Linked DNA regions of Homo sapiens: regions 2 and 3 are each linked to region 1. Evidence: promoter capture Hi-C in 16 types of primary human blood cells and fetal thymus (Javierre and others, 2016). All regions are on one chromosome and are shown on one strand. Each heading gives the region's core, a stretch centred on a gene start or on the middle of the fragment in contact. The rest is flanking DNA. Distances are from core to core; before and after follow the strand shown. Region 1 holds the start of TMEM184C (transmembrane protein 184C). Region 2 holds the start of ZNF827 (zinc finger protein 827). Region 3 has its middle 1.4 kb from the start of LSM6.

Region 1 (2,795 bases), core at 93-2,592:
ATGGTCTTATTATAGTTCTTGTAATAGGTGTTCCTCTGTAAAAGTACTTGGTGGGTTTTATTAACTCCGAATTTAAAGTTCATTATATAATATTTATATCTGAGTTATTTACCTTGGGGTTTTCCAGCTTGTAGTACATTACTGATGTCACAATAAGCATATGACATCAAAAAATATATATAAGGGACTTTTTGCAAAACCTTTGTTGGGTAAGAGCTAATTTCCACAGTAAAAACAGACACCAAAGTTAAAACAACTAGAACGCTTTGATTCAAGAAGCTAGTTAAAAGCTAATAAAATTCAATACATGGTTTTCAAGGTAGTTTATTTGACCTAGTTTCGTCCAATGTCTGAACAGATCAGATTTCAGCAATAAAATTACCTTACTTTCAGGGAACTGATGAATACTTGCAAAACAGTGCCCTTCTAAGCAGCTATATTAATATATTCTATTTTCTCGACCCGGTCCCACCTCCACCTGTAGCATGACTTGAAGAACCGTGAACAAGAAATTAGACAGGTTTATATCCTAAGAGTAGGCTCGTTTACATTAGATGGTTTTCAGGACTGTCAGGGCAGAAATGGGGTAAGGGTGTCTCTTTCCCAACCATAGATGGGTAGAAGAAAGTGTACAGGCTGATGGTGCAGAACCCTCTTACCTCCAGTTTCTGTAATTCCCACACGCATAGGGGAACCGCAACCACTATTGACACCAGGTAGATGACCGCTACTAAAGGTCGAATCCACTGTCTCCAGTTCCTCCAGGTACAAGTGCAAGGCATGTTTTCGCACAAATCAGATCCGGTTAGCAAGGGAAAAGATCTCGAAAAGATTGTAATGGGGAGCCCTGTTCTCTGGCTGTTTTGTCAACTCGCATACTACGGAGAAAAAGCTGTCGGGCGACTTTACGAACAGCTCGAGCCGCCTCCTGGACCGGCGCTGTGTCTTCTGCTGCTGCTGCTTCTGCAAATGTAGCCTCTCAGGGTGCTATTGGCGAGCAGTGCAGGCAACATCCTTTCTTCTCCACCCCGCATCTACCCGGTTGTACTGCGGTGGAATCCCAGGCAGAGCCGCTGCCCTCACCTGGGGATCGCCCTGAGCTCTGCCTGTACCATGGCTTCCAGGAGAGCAGCACAGACCAGGAACCGGCCTCTAGGGACCCTGCACACTCCGGTTCTGTCTCGCAGCTGCCTGCCCACTCGCTCTTTTCTTTGGGGATCGAGCTTCCTACCTCCCGCACTGGCAGGCGTCTCTTCAGTCGATTCCGCTAGTAGGTAAGGCCCCAGGATCTCCTCATTCTTTCGCACGGGACCTCCCCTACAGCGGAACCCAAGGCCAAACCAAGACTTTCAGCTCTTTTCCGCTTCCGCCCCTGCTGTCTGAGGCAGGTGATTCGTCGTCAGCGCCAAACTGGGCCCGCCCCATCCGACTCACTTTGCGCCCTCTGATTGGTCAGCTGTGGGGGCGGGGCTGCAGGATTGCGTACTGGGGTTAGAAAGAAGAGCAGGTGCGTGGAAGTGGGTGGAATTGCCGCAGATGGTCCAGCGGGCTATTGCAAGGATTCTGGAAGCTGCGGGAATTATTTGAGGACACTTGAAGCACACCTACTACATTCTTCTGCTGGCGTTATTCCAGTTTAAAGAAAGCTTGGGTAAGGGGCGGTTACTTCAGAGTTGGACTGGAAGAGAGAAGGCCCATCTCTACACAAAACATCCCCTATTCAATCTAGAGTGGATACAGAAGCCCGCTGGAGTAAGAAGACAAGGAAGAATGGGAAACCTCCACCTAGTTTTCTGTCAGTTGCTAGAATCTAGGGGCTAGGCCGCTTGGTTATTTCTGGATCCTACAGAAGGATCATTCTAAAGGTAGCTTCATTTTAGAATTAACCGCAAATAGGGAATGTCCCTTCTACATTTGGAACTTGTGTTAAAAATTTGCACTCATTTAAGTTTTAAAAAGTTGACATTCCATCTGACAAAGGAGTTTCATATGCTTAAAGCCTTTAGCTAAACCAATAGAGTAAACAAATATCTACTACTCAATTACATATACAAATGCGTTTTATATTGTAATTGTAATTTTCAGGGGGACAGGCACTGTACTAAGTTCATTACCTACATTATGTAAGTTGTTCTGCACAAAAATTTTGAGAGGTAGGCATTTTTCCACTTTACAGATAAAAAAGTCAAGTGGCTGATAAATTTGCCCAGGCTCACTGAGCTAGTTAAGTGGTAGTGTGGAGATAGCAACCTTGGTCTTTGTGACTCCAAAGGGCATTATATTTAAGCATTTGACCTGCTAGTACCTGCCACCTGGGGAATTTCCGCCTAATGACCATACGGATAAGGAGGCTTGTAACATTGAGTACACCTAGCCCAGGAGTCTCACAGAGACACCTAAGGAATATTATGAGCCCCTTTTTTGGTATCGTCTGTTTGGACTTGACTTCACTGCCTACTTCTCAGTTGTTAACATTTGTATTTTACAACCTGACCCAAACTACTTTCTACCGGAAAAATAGGCCTTATGTTTGTTCTTCCTAAGCTTACTTTAAAAATGGAAATTAAGGCTGGGTGCAGGGGCTCATGCCTGTAATCCCAGCAGTTTGGGAGGCGGAGGTGGGCGGATCATGAGGTCAGGAAATCGAGACTATCCTGGCTAACACAGTGAAACTCCGTCTCTACCAAAAATACAAAAAATTAGCCAGTTGTGGTGGCGGGAGCCTGTAGTCCCAGGTACTCAGGAGGCTGAGGCAGGAGAATGGCGTGAACCCGGGAGGCGGAGCTTGCAGTGAG
Region 2 (2,795 bases), core at 140-2,639, 1.7 Mb after region 1:
AAGAGGCATGAGTTATCCATGTAGGCTTATAGAGTGTCATTTTAATGTTCTATGTCTTTACTGTGCCTCCACTTTCTTTGATGAAAAGGTCTATTTAAAAATTGGTAGGAAAATATTTAACATAATAAGATGATGAGTCAGAGTTTTAAAAAAGCTAAAAAGGGAAGATGTAGTTAAATAATGCACCTTTTTATTTTCTAGCTACATGACTCATGACATATAATGTATTCTGCTAAGTTCAAAGTTTCCTCTTACAAAGAGAGTTTTATGAAACAACTCTTCTTCAGACCATTTTTATTTCAATTATAGTAGCAGGTTTTGGAGTTTAAATCATTAACAACCTCTGAGTGAACTTTTATCCAAATGACTGCAAGTCACAAAGAGAACAGTCCTCTTTCACCAAGTACCTTTTGTGCTCTAGTGAGACCCGTCCTTTTCTATTTTTCTCCTTTATGTCTCTCTTTGAAGAAAGATGTGTGATTTGTAAGGTAATGAAAGTATGTATCAGTTAATGAAAACTGCTATATTGGGCTCATAATGCACACTGGAATTGCTTCAGGGTAAACTTCATATACCTGCAGTATATAGCAGGGGAAAAAGTGAATTTCCGAAGTAAAGATTGCTGTGTGCACTCTAGGAGTATCACGTAGCAGTTAAAGCAACCATCAGGGGTGACCTAATCTTATTTTCCTCTCTTTGTCAAGTAGCTGTAATGTTCATTTAGGAGCATTTTTCAGTTTTAACTCCAGTGGACACTCCAAAACTGGGCACTTATTCTGTCAACTGTCAACCAAGTTATTGATTTCACCATATGTTGTCTTCATTTTTTTTAAATTAGTTTTTTTGGAATGTTTTTGAAGAGTGTGTGGGAGACGATAACCTCCAGATTTAAGGTGATGGGGTAGGGACAAAAGCCTGCAGAATTTCATACAGAACAAAATGTAGCTTAATAAACAAAAGAAAGTGAAGAGAGAAATTTATTTCCTTTTTAAAAGTCAGTAAAATAATGAACTAATCGTTGTTTAAAGAGTGAGAAAAACTTTTTCCCCCTAGATTTGGTGACTAGCGGGATAAATTTGAAGAACTCCATCCCACCCCCGCACGCGCGCCCCCCATTCTTTCCAGACAGAGCGGTTGTAAATCCGAGGCTGAGTCCGCCCTGGGAGCCTTGGGGCACTTTCCTCTTTGCTCTGTGTGTGTGTGTGCGTGCGTGTGTGTGTGTGTAGCTCTCGCTCTTTCCCTCAGTCTGTGCCTCTTGTGTGTGTGTGTGTGTGACAGAGAGAGAGCGAGAGAGAGAGCGCGAGAGGAGAGAGAGCGAGAAAGAGAGAGAGAGAGAGCAAGAGAGCGAGCTGTGAGCTGTGCTGCCGCCGCCGCTGCCCTTTGATCCCGACATTAGTGTTAGGGGCTCGGAGACACAGAGCGCGGCCATAGACACCGCCGCACCGGCACTCATTTATTTATACCTCCCATCACACACGCGAGCATAGGACACACACACACTCACACCTATTAGATCCGTTTCCATTGAAGAATATTACGCTCGGGGACAAGCCAGGTGCACGACCAAAAATTTAAAAAAAAAAAAAAAAGGAAAAAAGAAAGGAAAGAAAAGAAGAAAACCCCTCTTCTGGCTCCAGGAAACAAGCTTCAACCCATTGCACACACCGGAGAAGGGGTTTCCCCCTGCCCGCCCGCCCGCCCCCCAACTACCTCCCCGCTCCTGCCAGTGTCTGCCTCTCTGCCCCCACGGGGGTTTATTTGATCTCACATTAACCAAGGAGGAGAATGTGAGAAAAGGGGGAAAATGCCCAGGAGGAAGCAGGAGCAGCCCAAGCGCCTTCCCTCACGTAAGTCATCCCTTCTCCACCTCCTCTCGTGCCATTTTCTCGCCCTCCCTCTCCTCTTTCCCCTCCGCAGCCTCCTCCGTTGTTTTCTGCATTAGTTTAGGGTTACAGAGGTGAAACTGACAAAGACACAGCCCGGGTTACTCCTCGTTTAGGTCTATGCTGAGGCAGCCATGTTGGTGATGATCAGCCCCGTGCCCTTTCTATTCTCTCTCTCTTTTTCTTTCTTTCTCTCACCCCCCCCCTTTTTTTCCTTGAGATCGGGCTTTTTTTTCCCTTTCCCTCCCCTTCCCCCTCCTCACTCTGGGTTGCTGGGGGGAGGGGGCAAGAGAAGGGAGGAGGGGAGTAGTGTGGATGCCGGGGGTTTTATCGGGGGTTTGGTGGGGGGAGGTGGGAGAGGTTGGAATCTTAAAAAAAAAAAAATTCCTTGTGGATTCCGGCGCCTGAGGGTGCGGGGGTCGGGGCGCGCGGAGGGCTGGGGGCCGTGACATGGCGTTTGGGGGTGTCGGGGAGAGGGCGCGCAGCAGCCGCCGGGTACAGGATCCAGGGAGAGGTCCGTCCCTGGCTAAAGGTTGCGCCGGGGTTGGTCGGCCCCCGAGCCGCCGGCGGCAGCGGCGGCGGCGGCTGGAGCAGGAGGAGGCGGAGGTGGAGGAGGCGGCGGCGGAGGAGGGGAGTCGGGGGCGGGCGAGGCGGGAGCGGCTGGGGAGGGTGTAGGGGCACCGCACACAAACACACGGGTACACACGCGCCGCCGGGCGGCTGCTCCCGCGGCGCCGAGGCGAGGGGGCGCGCCGGGGCGCGGGGCGGCCGGGCGGGGGGCGAGGCCGGGCAGCGGCGGGCGGATGTGGGGTGCGGGAGCTGCGCCGAGGCGAAGGCAGGAGGCAGGGCGGCTCGCGGCGCGCGAGGTCCCTGCAGAGCGGAGGAGAGGGAGGAGCAGGGCTCCTGGCCGCA
Region 3 (2,795 bases), core at 212-2,711, 1.4 Mb after region 1:
CCGCTGGGGCCGAAAAAGCCTGTCAGCACCAAAGCGCGCAAATCCAAGATTCCTGGTTTGTCTAGTAGCAAAATTGGTGCAGTGGAGTTCCTCTAACAGAAATCTGAGTACAAAACAAATACAATACAAAACAAAAACAAAATTCCAGGAAACTAGAAGTGATCTTTTGGGCAGGATTTATTTACAGAAGTGTAAAAAATAACTTGAAGTCATAGGAAACTGGAATTTACTGTTTAAGTAACGGCATTGTGTACCCAGAAACGTCCTTGAATAGTTTAAAGCAAATAAATAAATAAATGAAACACCTCAAGTCTTTAAATCTACCTCTGGATATTGATTAAATGTGTGAAGACTTAAGCCATTTTAGCAAGAGACTGTTTCCATGGCAATGTTAATTGATACAAAAATAATCAAAATCACTCAAGTAACTCCAAATTATAATGACATTAATTGTGTTACATTACTAGTTCCTATTGGAAATGGTGTGCAGACTTATTTCAGTGCTACTATGGGAACTTGGTTTGGAATTTTGCATGAATTCTCAATACTCTTTCTATTAATGGAATTGAAAGGGAAAAAGAAGAGAACTGTTACACCAGGACTTGATTCGTTTTTCCCCCTCCACATATACTCTCATCAGTTGAAAACTTATACTTTAATTATATTTATGATTTGTAACACTATACACAGAGTGATAAGATCTTTCAACACAGATCCTTAACCCCATTAGGTGTTATAAAATCTAAGATGCAAAATTTTTTTCGAAGATAAAGAGTTCCTCCCTTGTAAACTTCTTTTGGTTAAAGGCAGAAGAAATGAACTTTTGATTGATATCAGGGACAGAAAACAACTGGATATGATTTGTTAAAGAATAGAGACTTCCTTATATCCTTCTATAAAAGTTCAGTTTGGATAAAGACCGAACAGTTACTGATTTATTGTGAGGGCTGTATTTGAAGTTCTTGCAATATAAAATACAATGTAAATAAAAATTTTAAGAAAAGTACCATTTAAATCAAATAATTACGTGCAAAGAACAAACATAATAGGATAAAAAGCCCTGTTCCTAAAAACTTTCTTTGCAAACGACATCAAATTGCACATTCCTTACTGATTGTTTAAATTATTAAAAAAAAAAAGAAAATTTTTGATTCAAACTTCTTTCCCTTTCCTACAGAGCCCTAATCGAGCCGTTAACACTAGTGTGGTGGGTAGGGAGCCATGAGGAGTTTTAAGGGCCTAGTTCATCTGCTGAGCAGCTGCAACCTTCTCTAAGGGGAGTAGCTGGGTAAGGGCCCAGTTTGACACACGGGGTGGGCATCCTGAATTAATTCATGAGCTAACAAGCTTATAAAAAGTGTGGCTGTTCCCAAAAGCCCCTCAGCAGCTTATAAATGACTTTTACTAACTCACAAGGCAATTTTCCGTATTTCCCAGGTTTTTGCTTTCAGCATCTTTTATGATGCAAAGAAAACACTGCAAGACTTTTGGTGAATACTAGTCTTCAAAACCCTGAATGTAAACATTAATTTATTAAGGAGCCTTAAAGTCATAAAAATATTTTGGCAAGCTTTAGTTTAACTTATGTAGTTTAGTTTCATTTAGTTGTTAGGACTGATGAACCTACACTGACACATCATTATCATCCAAAGGCCAAAGTTTACATTAGGGTTCACTCTTGGTGTTGCACATTCTATAGGTTTTGACAAATGCATAATGAAATGTACCCACAATTACAGTATCATACAGAATAGTTTCACTGCCCTAAAAATTCTCTGTGCTCCACCTATTTATCCCTTCCTCCCCACTGGCAACCGCTGATCTTTTTTCTGTCTCCAAAGTTTTGCCTTTTTCCACAATATCATATATTTGGAATCATACCGTACACAGTTAGTGGTGCATACACTGCACCACCCCACTGTGTAGCCTGTTCAGACTGGCTTCTTTCACTTAGAAATATGCATTTAAGACCCCTCTGCGCCTTTTCATGGCTTGACAACTCATTTCTTTTAAGTTCTGAATAATATTCCATTATTTGGATGTACCACAGTTTATTTATCCATTTACCTACAGAAGGACATCTTGGTTGCTTCCAAGTTTGGGAAGTTATGAATAAAGCTGCTATGAATATGTGTATGCAGGTTTTTGTATAGAAATAAGTTTTCAGCTTATTTGGGCAAATATCAAGGAGTATGACTGCTAGATCATATAGCAAGGGTATGTTTAGTTTTGTAAGAAACTGCCAAACTGTCTTACAATGTGGCTGTACCATTTTGCATTCCCACTAGGAGTGAATGAGAGTTTCCATTGTTCCACATCCTCATGGGCATTTGGTGCTTCCAGTCCTTTGGATTTTGACTAGTCTAATAGCTGCTTAGTGACTATCTCATAGTTGTTTAAAGTTGTAATTCCCTAGTGACATATGATATGGAGGATCTTTCTATATACTTATTTGCCATATGTATATCTTTGGTTGTTCAGGTCTTTGGCCCAATTTTGAATCAGTTTGTTCTTTCTTTTTGTTGAGTTTTAAGAGTCCTTTGTATATTTTGAATAATAGTTCTTTATCAGATATGTGTTTTACAAATATTTTCTCCCAGTTTATGGCTTGTCTTTTCATTCTCTTGAAGCTATTATGCTTAAAATAGACAAATGCAGATATATAAATGCTAAGAGAACTCTTGCCACTTCATTGTTTGTCCCTTCTACAGTTCTATAGTACATATGCCTTTAAATAACTATGTCCTTCAATGTTTCATATTCATAAAAGATGGTCTCATGTCTAGCTTATTAAA

Evidence for each region. The method cuts DNA at HindIII sites, captures the fragments that hold promoters and counts their contacts. A CHiCAGO score of 5 or more calls a contact.
Region 2: a contact is called between the fragment with the promoter of ZNF827 here and the fragment with the promoter of TMEM184C in region 1, in 3 of 17 cell types (erythroblasts, fetal thymus and non-activated CD4 T cells). The highest score is 9.4, in erythroblasts.
Region 3: a contact is called between a fragment that was not itself captured here and the fragment with the promoter of TMEM184C in region 1, in 2 of 17 cell types (total CD8 T cells and fetal thymus). The highest score is 5.6, in total CD8 T cells.

The regions. Positions count from the first base shown.
Region 1 is chr4:147,615,944-147,618,738 of GRCh38, reverse strand. TMEM184C (transmembrane protein 184C) reads right to left here and starts at 1,342. Exons shown (of 10, transcript NM_018241.3): 1 at 660-1,342. The coding sequence starts at 782. It overlaps TMEM184C-DT (TMEM184C divergent transcript), which reads left to right and starts at 1,494. Exons shown (of 2, transcript NR_186679.1): 1 at 1,494-1,651. RefSeq lists enhancers at 923-972, 1,003-1,122. The HindIII fragment of the contact is 5,941 bases long and covers 1-1,648 here.
Region 2 is chr4:145,937,417-145,940,211 of GRCh38, reverse strand. ZNF827 (zinc finger protein 827) reads left to right here and starts at 1,389. Exons shown (of 15, transcript NM_001306215.2): 1 at 1,389-1,847. The coding sequence starts at 1,805. RefSeq lists an enhancer at 2,013-2,072 and silencers at 2,447-2,516, 2,637-2,795. The HindIII fragment of the contact is 1,765 bases long and covers 1-1,647 here.
Region 3 is chr4:146,172,876-146,175,670 of GRCh38, reverse strand. No RefSeq gene overlaps it. Among named protein-coding and RNA genes, the nearest start is that of LSM6, 1.4 kb to the left of the region's middle. The HindIII fragment of the contact is 223 bases long and covers 1,350-1,572 here.